Linked DNA regions of Homo sapiens: region 2 is linked to region 1. The links are contacts of gene promoters, found by promoter capture Hi-C in blood cells and fetal thymus (Javierre and others, 2016). All regions are on one chromosome and are shown on one strand. The core of a region is centred on a gene start or on the middle of the fragment in contact, and the rest is flanking DNA. Distances in the headings are between cores, read along the strand shown. Region 1 holds the start of DLC1 (DLC1 Rho GTPase activating protein). Region 2 holds the start of LOC105379289 (a long non-coding RNA gene).

Region 1 (6,867 bases), core at 2,576-5,075:
CTGACTTCCACGCATAATATCACAAATGTCTAATGTGACTGAATTAATGATGTTGCTACTTATTTCATAAAAGAGTAAAACACTATTTTCAAAGGATAGATCTTGCTTTACATAAAATGTTCTTGAACTGCATGAGAGACACTGAATAATTCTGTACAGAAGTCCAGATTCAACTTTCCTGAAAATGATTGGGAAATGACTAGATAAATGATCATAGCTAATGTTTATTGTTTAGGTAAAAGTACCTAAGTAGAAAAGAGATCTTTAGGCCAGGCACAGTGGCTCACGCCTCTAAACCCAGCACTTTGGGAGGCCGAGGCAGGCAGATCACTTGAGGTCAGGAGTTTAAGACCACCCTGGCCAACACGATGAAACCCTGTCTCTACTAAAAATACAGAAATTAGCCAAGTGTGGTGGAGTGCATCTGTAATCCCAGCTAGTCAGGAGATGGAGGCAGGAGATTTGCTTGAACCTAGGAGGCGGAGGTTGCCTTGAGCCGAGATCACCACCACTGCACTCCAGCCTGGGCAACAGAGCCAGACTCTGTCTCAAAAACAAAAACAAAAACAAAAAAAAGAAAGGTGATCTTTAAAATACCATTTAATCCACCTCCTGCTATTCTTCTTTCCACAGAGTACATAATTGTTCCACCACTATAACGGTTTCACATGTATACATTTAACTTGGAGTTCAATAGAAGAGAGAGAAAGATTCTAAAAATACCTGAAAGAGAGATGTAAACATTAAAAAAGGCAATAATTTAAGTGGTAAAAATAATTCTAGCTAATGGCTTTATATGGACTAGCTTTTTGCATTGTGACAATTCTTAGTTATGGAAGCTAAGACATCCTCACCCCGGTTAGGTAACTCACACAGGTCACAAAAGCTGTTAGTTTTGGAGCAGACTCCTATCCTGATACTTTGTTTTCAAGTTCTTAACTGTCCCTGTCCCCTTATTTGATTAGCTGATCCAGTACAGAGTAACAGTCAAACATTTAAGGAAGTTGGTATTTAGATTTGCAAGTAGAAAGAAGGGGACAAATATTTTGAACTCCTTCAGTGTTCCTGACACAATACTAAGTACTTAGGAAGTTTTCTCACTATTTATCTTTACACTCATATTTGGTAAAGCCTTTATAAGACTATAAGATCTGAGATTTGTTTGGAATCAAGCAACTCAACAATGAAAAATAAATATAAGTAATTAAAGATTTGGGAAGTAATCCTATTAATAGAAGAAAACATAATGTATTTTTTGTGTAGAAAAGGGTATGTTTATGAGAAACTTACTAACAAGAGTTTCTAGATATCTAAAAGGCATTTGTGAACAGAGTTTTCTTGTTTTCCCAAGCCAATAGAAATAGAAACAAAACTAAAGTATATGGCGCGGGGTACAGTATTCATGAATAAAATGTAGCTAAGAATTAGCATGATGCTGATATAATATTGAGTAACCACTGTATATCAGTACTAAAGGCAGTGACAGAGATAGAGATATCAAGTTATATTAGGAAAGACATAATATCAGTTCTCATTCCTTTCTTCTCCAGTGTTTTTCTTAGGGAAATAAACATAAATACACAAATATTTCTGCATATAAATTTCATCCTGCTTTCCAATCTATAAGTTATGTGAAATTGTCTCTATTTTTAAAGAGAAACTATTAGAGTTTAAGAAGTCTTCCCAATTTAATAAAGAAATTAAGTGGAAGTCAAGGAAGGCAGTTTATGGAGAAAAAATTAAAGCACAAAGCTTGGAGCTAGAATATCTGAGTTCCAGTGTGGACCTGGGCACTTTGTATCATTTGACTGTGAGAAAATTGCTTCTCAATACTTTATTTGTAAAATAAAACATATGAATACACGCAAAATTGTTGGAAAGATTAAATAGGCATACTGTCAGTAGAAACACTTTGAATATAAATATAAATACTTTTTAAAGAATTTATGGAAGAACAGACTTCTTTCTTGGCCTATGGTTGAAGATTAAATTAAAGAAACCTAAATGCTCATGTTTTTAGTCAATAAGACTTTGATCTAAACTTTTAAAGCTGCTTCTGACCAAACGTTTTTATTTGACTACTTCTCATCTTCAAACTCATGCACAGTATAAGTCATTCTTGCCATCTAACATGGGTCTAATATGGTTCATGATTTGCATTAACTTTGAGAGATTTTAGCTACCTAATAAGGAAAAAAATAGTAGTTAGAACCTTGTGCATCTTTGAGTTATCACCTACCCAATATTATCAAAAAGTACTACAAGATAGCCCTTGTGATATACAGGGATGGAGAATAACAGTGAACAATGAAAACTACTTACAATTTCAGAGAAGAACAGGATAGATCTTAGGGCCAACAAGTTTAAGATGTCTTTTACCTCTTTATATGTTACTCATTTTATCACATCCAACTGGAATTATTCTTGCACTTCCTATTATTGAAAGCTTCTAGAAATTTGCAAGAAGCAGATAGACCTAATAATTAATCTGATCATCAGTCCCCCCCCAAAAAAATGCTTGAGTCATAAATAGCAGCGAAATCCATTGATTGTAAATAAAGTAGAAGGGAGACATGACTGAGCCATTTCCACCAAGCAAGATAATTAAAGTCAGAGATGCTGTTTCCTGCTTCCCTGGTATAAACAATGAAGCTGCTCTACTGGCCTCTCCACAGCCTGGATGTCCCAAAACCACCTCCCTCTTCTTTCCTTCCACATTCTCTAAAGAGGATTCTGGGTCATAAAGGAAGGAAAATTGGTGTAACTTTTTTCCTGAAACGACTTCAGCTTCCTCTGTGTTTGTATTTGTGATATCTTATTATAAGACGAGCTAACATCTATTATTAATTGATGCACTAATTAAAGCCATACTTGCAGTTTCCATTAGCTTATTCCCTAAATTCTCCAGAGTTGCCTGTCTGGTTTTAATCAAAACCAAATGGTAGTCCAAATTCCCAACCTGGAGCAGCTAGGAGGAAGTCATTCAAGGGAGGCACAAGAAAGCAGAAAAGATAAACAGATGATAGTTCACAAAATTTGTGACGGACGAAGGATGCAGATACCATGAGCGGCTTTAGAGATGTGATTCAGGAACGCTGCCATGCTAGATGGAAGCAGTTGTAAGTGTTTAATGTCAGCAAGACTCTAATACGATCAAGATGGAGCCTGTCTTCTGCTCCAGCACTGGATTTTTGTAACTGGAGGATTCTGACTAGAGGTAATGCGCTGCTGCATTTGCCATAACACGAACTATTTTAATTCTGTGAAGGATTCTTGTGATCAGAGAGATCTGGAAGAAATCGTTCTATTAACTGGATGCTTGGGATTTTACTTACAGATGGTCTCAGGGACAGAATGAAAAGCTGCAGCATTTCCAATTTTAAGTCATGTTCAAAAAAGGTTTTGCCATTTAGAAGAATTATGGTATTAAGGCTAAATTCATCTTGCTCTCTTAAAAGATCTTTTGAAATGAGAGCAAGCACAGGCATTTTGATTAAGCTGTGCATATACATTTAATATAGTGGAAAGGTTGTGGATAGAGAGAAAACTACGTTTTCTTTCTTTCTTTCTTTCTTTTTTCATAAGCAGTGTGGGATAGAAAAAGCTCTAGGACTTTATGACTCTACAGCTAATCACCTCAAGAGCTTTGACAAAACTCACTTGAGTTCTGTGTAAAATCAGAACTCCTAAAACGCCCAGGCGGCTGGGCTCTCCCCTCCTCCCCTCTCTTCGTACAGCCTTTCTAGCATGCACACTCCTCAGAGGCAGGAAATACTTTCCAGGCAATCTGGGCCTGGTTGTGGAGGCCCCTTTTGCAAAACCTCAGTCTGAATTTAGTAGACAGAAGTCACTAGGAATGCCTTGACAGGATCCTGCCTTAGCTAAGGCTCCCTCCAGCTGCAGAGGGTGTTTTTGTTAGACTCACACACTGCGTGAAACTGCTCAGAATAGAGCCATGATCTCAACCACGAAATGGGAACTTAGATTTTGGAGAAACTAACGGGGACGGACTTCTTTCCTAGCCTGAGTGTTGAGCAGTGTCATGCCTTGGCGTTTCAGCTCCTCGTTGTCTAGGTAAGACGCTATGGACTATCTTTATGCTTTGAGGCGGTCTTTGAAGAGGCAGAAAGATTGAGATAAATGTTAGCATCTTGCACGGAGTTGGTGACTTCCTAGGTTTTAGAGCAAAGCCATAAAATCAGAAGTGGAAAATGTTTGATAAGTAGAAAATTCTGAGTCAATTCGTTTTAGCAAACTGTCAGTTCTAAAACAGGCTCCATATAGATTTAACTCTTTTCCTCCATAAAGTAAGATTTTATTTTTATCCCTTTTTACGTTTAACTTATTTATTAATTGAGCTGTCGGATCAGTTTTCCTATTTCTTGGCATAACGTGAAACAAATACATTTTCTCACACATCAGTGTGAGGTGTAAATGAATTCCTCCCCTACCTTCCTTTGCCAACAGGGAGAGTAGAAAGCACCCGAGTGACTTGTGCTTAATAATCAGTCTCCAAAGAGTATTTTGTGTCTCATTTAAAACTACGAAGATTGAATTTCTTATTATTTTACCCAAGCCAGTTTCAATCATATGTCAAGCTTCTCCTGTACAGCTTAAAAGGTTCATTTAAAAAAAAAAAGTAAACACGTGAAATTTCAGGAATTATTTCTGTCCTAAATAGTATTTAATCTGAGTTTTGGAAATTTAAATGTCGGAATCGAATTTAGTTTATATTAATTTTCCTGGATTCACTGCTTGCTCCGGTCACATTTTGTGTAATATTTTGAATAACTGAAGTCAATCTCAATGACACTGACACTCATTATAACTCTTTTAAGGCAGCCAGAAATCACTCCAGTCATATGGAAACTGTTTGTGTCCTTACTTATGTAATCGTAAAATTACATTTCCACCTGACTGTAGTCTCTTCAAGGTAATCTTAAATGTTTAAATGTACAATATATTAGAAAAGAAGTTTAGTAATGACCGAAAAAGTGTGGACTTATAATGCATAAGATACTGTTATATTTCTGAATATTTATAATAAAATTCATCATTTTATAGAAATAAAATGGTACATAAAGGGAAGAAATATTCATGTACATTTTCAAATCTATTAGATGAATACAAAATATACTAAGTGAAAGATGGAGAGCTATTTTGACAGTTGGATCATAAGAAATGAAGTAACTGTTTTCATTATAAGTTTTTATATAGTACAAGGTGACCATCTGCTATATTAGCTATTCTCAAATTTTATGCTAGAATAACTTATATTGATAAATTTTAACTATTCACTGACAATTTGTGTTAAAACTTCTTAAATATGAGAAAAAGAATCTACTTTTTATATATGTGGAAGATAAAATACTGACTTATCTAAATTATGATTTAATTAAAATCTCCAAATGGAATTTCAGAGAAGGAAAGAACATAAGAGATGGTCTCCTCTAACAATGGCTTGAGGTTGTCTACAAGAAGCTGAGAAATGGGATTTAAAAGTGACCTGTCCAAGGTCACACCTCTAGCTAATAGAAGAGAGGACAGCAGAACCACAGTGCCCTGATTCATAATTCAGATACCTTTTTATCCCATCATCCTGCCCTCCCATAATAATTATGCATAATGAAGTATGAACATGTCCAGTAGAAGGGTGCTTTGCAGACAGAAATTTGCAGTTCCTCTAATTTAAAAAAAAAAAAAAAAAAAGGTAAAACTGTCACCAATGTTAATTATGTGGGGAAAAAAATCCTAACTTTAAAAAAAAATCAAATCAGTATGCCTTCAATAAACACTTTACAGTAGTAACTTGCTTTATGACTATTTTATTATATTTGATGTTTATGTCAAGAAAATCAATCCATATGCTAATAATTATATTAATTTTAATCTGATGTTTCTTTAAAAATAGGGCTAGAAAACAGCTTTTCTAATTTATATCCTTGTACTCAAATGATCATAATGAAACTGTCCCAACCAATGACTTTCAGAGGCAATTTTACAGCACCACCCCCAGGCATCCTTTCTTCTATCTAGCCTAAATCATTGTTGCTGTAGCTTATTTCAAGTTCTATGTGGGTCTTTTCACTAAATATATAAAAAGCCTAAGTTGACATATAAAAAATATGTTTACATTTCTCCAGCATGTTTGCAATCCCTTAATTGATTTGTATGTCTGCTCTAAGCCTTCTACAAAGTCATTTAATTGTAGAATGCAGAATTTTTACAGTATATAAATAAATGTCTGAACAACGTGGTATAAAATGGGAGCGTGGGCTATTTCATCTGCATCATACTTCATATATGACAATATTTGTTGCTGTGTGTGCTGAAGCAGTATACCTTCTCAGACAAGACCCTTTCTCATAAATGTAACACATTCCATTTCTAATAGCTGCCATTTCCTTAGAGAGAATGTGTCACGATACTTTTTTTTTCCATTTTCATGACCAGATTGAGTTTCCTGATGTTATTACTACTTAAAAGAGACACTATTCAACACTTCCTTTCAATGTCACCACACTCTACATTATTGGAATGAGAAATAAGTGCAGTAAAGTGGTGGCCCTTATAGCTGACTGCCTGATTCCTAGAAGGCCTAGTAAAAGATAGCACATCACTTCATTTTCTTCATAAGGACATTATAATTTAAAAAAAAGAATTTTTTCTCTCTCTGTCTATACCTACCCATACCATATAACTCACTACAAATACTTATGGGATGGTTTAATCTTATTCATAGAGTTTTAGATCTTACAGGCTTAAAATAGGTCAAAAATTGATCATTTGAAATTTGTCTTTTGTTTGTTTTTTGTTTCCTCTTGAAAAATGAGTGATGTCAGTGTTATAAAATGAGAATCACTCTTT
Region 2 (6,867 bases), core at 2,081-4,580, 650 kb after region 1:
GAGGACAAGATGTTCAGGCACAAAGATGCTGAAATGGGGGCTAGCACACTGAGCAAACTCTTGTCCTCTAATCCCAGAGAGTTTATATCTAGGAAGAGCAGTCTGCTTAACTGGCTATGAGGAAGTCATTCTGGTCATAATGAGAGATACATATTGGAGGAATGTGGAGCACTAATATCAGATAAATATTGTGTCTCGATTTTGGTTTTCTGCATAGGAAGCAAGAGAAGGAAATTCATTGTCAAATAATAGAGAACACATTGCTTTGGGAACTCTGGTTCTGACCTAATGGCAGAAGGAACAAGACTTACCTGTCTCTTTGTTGTCTTTCTGTTGGAGTGGATTTGTTTCTAGTCTTTGCTCTTAATAGGGAGCAGTACTTTGAAAGTGCTGACTTTATGTAGGCCCCTTGGTTCCAACTTCCCATTTGAGAAAGACTCAAGGCTTCATTCATCTCCCCTCTTCTTTTTCGTATTAACAGAGATGCCCCAGGTAACTGAAGATCAGCAGATTCCTAGATTGCTGAGACTAACAACCTGTCCTCTGGAAGCCAGAGCATCACTGCTCAAAGCTTCTCACTGTGGTTTTAGTTCCAGGTTCATTTCTGAACTGTGTCTACATTAGATAATAAAAATATATTATATTTTAGCCAGTATTTCTAGGTGCTTTTAGTGGAAGGATTTTCAAATTCTGTCCTCCACAAGCCGATAGCTGTCAAATAAGTTTATCCCTCCAATCCTATAGGCCAAACAATCTCCAGTTCTATCAGTTAAACGTCCCATTTCAAACCAGTCCAAACTCTTGCCCTGCTACTCAACTCCCAACCTGGCTCACATTTTCAACTTCAGTTTCCCCAGGCATATCCAATCCCCCTACCCTCTGATCAAACTAGAAAACACTCTCTATGATCTAACAATCCACAAAGCAAATACTGCATGGTTCGAAGTCTGTGACAGTAGATGTTTTTTTGATTTGAAGAAGAAGAATAGAAGCATCAAGAATCCTCGCAGAAAAGTTTTTAAATGATTTGTAAAGGATTCATTTAAAAATGATTTTGTTAAGACCCTCCCATGGTAATTGCTAATATTTATAAAACCCAAATTTATGCCTGAAAGTTTCAGTAATTGAGAACAAAAGTAACATCTAAAAACCCCATTACAAACAAACAAGCTTTTTTTTAGTATAAAGTCTTACATTAGTATAAAGTTCTTAGTCTTTACTGTTGAGTCCTTGATGTAAAGTCTTAACTAGTTTTTCTTTTTCTTTTTTTTTAGAGATGGGGTCTGATTATGTTGCCCAGGTTGGCCTTGAACTCCTGGACTCAAGTAACCTCCACTTAGGCCTCTCAAAGTGCTGGGATAACAGATGTGAGCCACTGTGCTCAGCTTCTTTACATTTTTAGTGTAAACTTAGGGTAAAATCTCCTATTGTAGAAGCTTCTATTGTGGTCAATGTAATATGTCAAATTGACTAGGTTATGGTACCCAGATGTTTGGTCAAACACTAAACTGGATGTAGCTGTGAAGGTATTTTTAGAATAAACTTAACATTTAAATCAGTAGACTTTCAGTAAAATAGACTACCCTTCATAATATGGGTAGGCCTCATTCAATCAGGTCTTAGGAGAAAAGACTGAAGCATCCCAAAGAGGAAGAAACTCTGCCTCAAGATTTCAATATAGAAACACTGCCTGGGTGTCCAGCCTGCAGATTTTGGATTCAGGTCTTCAACTTCAACTCTTGCTGAATTTCCAGCCTGATGGTTTGCTGTACAGATTTTGGACTTGCGAGACTTTCCGCCAGATGCTTCCTCTCACCCCTTGTCCCTGGCATGGCTTTATTCCAGAACCTCTGTCAAAATATACTTTATGGGTGGCTACTCTGGCTTAATGAAGAGATAGAGATGGCAAACTTCTCATCAAGTCATATTTGTTTGGCTCTCCAAAAAATGTATTAAGCTATTAATATATTTGCAGCACTGGGGCCACCTCAAAAATGGGTTAAAAGATGGGTTCTTCTGGCAGGGCGTGGTGGTGCATGCCTGTAATCCCAGCACTTTGGGAGGATGAGGCGGGTGGATCACCTGAGGTCGGGAGTTTGAGACCAGCCGGACTAACATGGTGAAACCCCGTCTCTCCTAAATACAAAAAAAATTAGTCAGGCATGGTGGCAGGTGCCTGTAATCCCAGCTACTCAGGAGGCTGAGACAGGAGAATCACTTGAACCTGGGAGGCGGAGGTTGCAGTGAGCCGAGATCGTGCCATTGCACTCCAGCCTGGGTGACAAGAGTCAAATTCTGTCTCAAAATAAATAAATAAATAAATAAAATACCTTCTTCTCACACTCATTAGGAAGGCTAGTATCGAAAAATGGAAAATAAATGTTGGTGAGAATGTGGAGACCTTGGAAGCTTTGTGCACTGCTACACATGCTACAACAGAGGTGAGTATTGAAGACATTGTGCTACATTATGTGAAATAAGTAGGTCACAAAAGGACAAATAATGTGTGATTCCACCTATATGAGGTACCTAGAATAGATACATTCACAGAGATGGAAAATAGAAGTTACCAGTGGTTGGGGGGAGAGATTAATCAGGAGTTATTATTTAATGAGTACAGTTTCTGTTTGGGATGATGAAAAAGTTCTAGAAATGGGTGGTGATAATGATTGCGTAACAACGTGAATGTAGTTAATGCCAATGAATTGTACACTTCAAAATGATTTACATGGTAAATTTCATGTTAATGTATGTTTTACCACAATAAAAATGTACCTTCTTCTTTCAATCATGCACATGGGTCTAGATAAGCTTACATTGTTGGTAGAGATGATAAAAGAGAAAATAGTGAGAGTCCATAATTCTGTTCCGAGGTGGGGACTAGTCAATATTTTCCTCCAGTTTGGCTAAAAATTTGAAAACAATCAAATTTGTTTTGACATTTATTAAGCTGATGAAAATGATGGGATGGTACAGTCAAAAAGGTAGAAATTATAGTTTTTTTAATACTTTAAGTTCTGGGATACATATGCAGAATGTGCAGGTTTGTTACATAGGTATACACGTGCCATGGTGGTTTGCTGCACCGATCAACATATTATCTACATTAGATATTTCTCCTAATGTTTCTTCTCCCTTCTTGAAGTGTTGGACAGTTTTGTATTTTCTTTGGCTCTGAATGCATGCAATCTTGATAGAGGCAGACCCATCTACTTCTGAAGGTCAGGTTGCTTGCGGCAGCTCAGTTATTCAAGTGTGCAGTGTGAAGAAGGAAGGAGACTGGATACAATAATTACTTAAGCAGCTACTAGTTTCTTGACCAGAGTTAAACCGCTTAATCTTCTGTGCCATGGTTTCCTAGCCTGCGTGTCTTCTCGCTTCAGTTTGTAAACTAAGATTGACCCTAAATCAGAAACAGATACCACAGTATTAAAAAATATTACTCATTATTTTACATTGTGGGTTTTGTACTCTTTCTGCATCAGATTTTGACTGTTTGTATGGCTGGCTCTGAAAGCTCTAGACAGTTGCTCAAAGTGAGTATTCCTGTCTGCTCAGGTTATAACCTCAGCCCCCTCTCTTTGAGAAGCAGATGCCAACTTGGGGTGAGAAAGGGCCACCACCCTCTCCAAAATTCATCCCTTTGTGACCATAAAGCCATGTCTTTACAGCAGAAATGACTACTTCCCCTAGTTAGCTCTATGTTTCCTATAAAATATTTTACTATTCAAGATCAAGCAGAGCAATGTTGTTCTGTAAGTTTGTGATTTGCCTCGGAAACCACAGGGGTTGTGTGAGAATTTATGTTCAGAGCATTTATAACTTTATAAAACATGAGGTAAAAGCTTTCCTTCACAAAAGAGGTGAAAATCCTGACCTGTGCTGAGAAATGAATAGGAATGGAGGATCTGTGCATGTGTAAAACGACACTGTCAACTAACATTTTAATTTCACACCATGCATCAGACAAATTCGAGGCAACCAAAATGCAATATATCAGAGATGAGGAGAAATCTTTATCAGGCTATAAAAGTAACCCTCTGCACACTTACAATAGTCCATCATGGGACACCCAAGATGGATTTATACCAAGAGTAAAGATTATTTGCACGTTACAACTCACCTAGGTGGTACTAGCTCAAATTGGGACCAGTATTCTCTTTAATGATATTAAAGTGTGAATGTCACATAGATGTGATAAACAACTTGAGTTTCAAAGACGCTTCTGAGAGTGGTCAAAACCATTAGCTACTTTGAGAAATTGTGGCTATTGAAGATTTAGTGAACACTATCTGTACCCTGTTGGGTAATTCAGAAGTTGAGGTTGGTCCTATGAGAGAATATGGTAACTAACAGAGACAGCAACCGATGGGAGAAACATTCAATAATCAATTATTAAATACACTACTGATACAGTTTTGCTGTGTCCCCACCCAAATCTCATTTCGAATTGTAGCTTCCATATTTCCCATGTGTTATGGAAGGAACCTGATGGGAGCTAATTAAATCATGGGGGCGGTTTCCCCATACTGTTCTCATGGTAGTGAATAAGTCTGACGAGAGCTGATGGTTTTATAGGAGGCTTCCCTTTTCACTCGGCTCTCATATCTCTCTCTCTTGCCTGCCATGTAAGATGTGCCTTTTGCCCTCCACCATGATTGTGGGGCCTCCCTAGCCATGTGGAACTGTGAGTCCATTAAAGCTCTTTTTCCTTATAAATTGCCCAGTCTTGGGTATGTCTTTATCAGCAGTGTGAAAACAGACTAATACAACTACTACTTTTCTTGTTCATGCTAGAAGTAAGCACTGCTTAAATTTAGCATTTTCATCCTTAAAAGAGAAAGCTAAATAAAATGTTCACCAAATAGAAAAAATTGCAGCTGTTAAGGCCTGGCAAATTATATCCAGAAGAGAATGGTTTAAAATAAATCTACCAAACATCTTGTAGCTTGATTCAAAACAGCTAAATCGTTCTGAATATGTGAATGAACAGCTAATTCAAGGAATATCAGCTCCATTCTCCTGAGCCATGGGTGATTTCTCTTATATCTTCCATGGTAACTAGTGGTCCATCTGTCCGACAAGATGGAAATCATCAAGACCCACTGGGGGTTTGAAGGCCCAGTATTTCCCAAAACTCACCAGCTAGGACCTTTGAAAATGGGAATACACTAAAAATATAGACAACCTGTTATAGGTGTTTCTGTCCGTGAATTGGGAACTTCTCAGTATGCTAAAGAGCTAGGAAGGACTTAGGCCATTCACAGGGCTGCAGACTCTGTTGGTGATACTGAATTCCAGTTTATAAATCGACAGAAGGAGTTCCTTTCTCCACATCCTGGGAACCAGAGAGTTGCCATTCAACATTTCATGGAAGAAATTCAAGTAAAATAGCTCCTGATCTCGTACAACTATGGTTAGTGGTAGGAATATATGCATCAGAATTTTTCGAACTGTTAAAAATAGCAGGCTACGTTATTGGTGAACATAAGGAAGATTAGTCCCTAGCTCTCATTTCAGAAGAGTTACAGTAACTGTTTAAGAGAAACAATGAGAAAAAAATTGGAGGGTGAGTTACATGTGTTTACAATCTAACTTATTCCTGGGTGACGCCTCCTGAACTTCACTTTGAGGAAATGAATCTATGTTTTGATGCAACATTATTATATCCTCGAGCTCAGCTTCAATATGAGTTCTTAAGATTTTATGCATAGATTTAACTGAGAGATGTTGTGTTTTTAGAGAACTGATGGGGATGACTATAAAGTCAGATCATGAAGGGAACAGGAAGTTTTACTGCTAGTGGATGAATGTGACTCCCAAATTGTTTTCATGTTATTACAAAGTGACAGAAATGCAAGGAGTTTAGGAGTATAAATTACATGTATGAAAACCATCATGCTATTTAAGGGCGTGGTGGAACATGGCTGTGTATATTTTTTTCTTTAACTGAAAATTACCAGTTTGCAAATGTCCCTGTTGTAAAACTGTTTGTGAGTCAACGAAACGATTGCTCACGACAAAGCCTAGGCAGTTAAGGGCAAGTTAGAAATCATGGAAGGAAACAGAATTATACTTGTTAAGTATTTCTCCTCTCAAAGACCCAGATGGGGTGATTTGTGCTCTGGCAGGTTGAGAATGAATCCTGAAAGATGGTGGACATTTCTGGACCCCATAGATTGTGACCCACAGAGAAATAAATAGTCTAGGACTTTAAATGTATGCAAGAAAAGGTTCTATACCACAAATTTCACTGATGCTGTATCATTAATCAAAATGGTCTTGAGGTAGAATTAGATGACGCAGAATGTGTTTCAGTGTATCTGGATTCTCACAGCCACTGCATCGTGAACTTCTTGTGCATTGCCTATAATTTAAAATGTTGTGACAGTTATTTCATTGTGAGACTACTGTTTCTTGTCACATTGATTATTTTATATAGGTACCCAAATTTTAAATTCTACTGTGTGCCCTCTTTAAGTTTCCTTTAAATGCAACAGGAGTTTTCTGAGAGTAAGCTGCACGTATTAGTTTGCCAAGGCTGCCATAGCAAAGTGCCCAGACTAGGTGACTTCAAAAATAGAAATTGATTTTCTCCTGGTTCTGGAGGCTAAAAGTCCAAGATCAGGGTACTGGCAGAGTTGAGTTCTTCTGAGGCCTCTCTCCTGTGCTTGCAAATGACTCTTCTCTTGCTGCCTCTTCACCTGGTGGTCCTGATATGCACATGTGCCCCTGGTGACTCTCTCAATGTTCCAATCCCCTCTTTTTATAGACATCAGTCAGATTGGATTGGATTAGGACCCATCCATAGGACCTCATTTAACCTTAATTACCTCTTCAAAGCTCCTCTCTCCACATACAGTCACT

The links. Contacts are between HindIII fragments. The CHiCAGO score rates a contact against its expected background, and 5 or more counts as called.
Region 2: a fragment that was not itself captured here is called in contact with the fragment with the promoter of DLC1 in region 1 in 1 of 17 cell types (endothelial precursors); the score reaches 5.2 in endothelial precursors.

Annotation. Positions count from the first base shown.
Region 1 is chr8:13,511,809-13,518,675 of GRCh38, reverse strand. DLC1 (DLC1 Rho GTPase activating protein) reads left to right here and starts at 3,825. Exons shown (of 18, transcript NM_182643.3): 1 at 3,825-4,074. The HindIII fragment of the contact is 2,152 bases long and covers 2,449-4,600 here.
Region 2 is chr8:12,859,441-12,866,307 of GRCh38, reverse strand. LOC105379289 (a long non-coding RNA gene) reads right to left here and starts at 842. Exons shown (of 3, transcript XR_949509.3): 1 at 312-842. The HindIII fragment of the contact is 1,034 bases long and covers 2,814-3,847 here.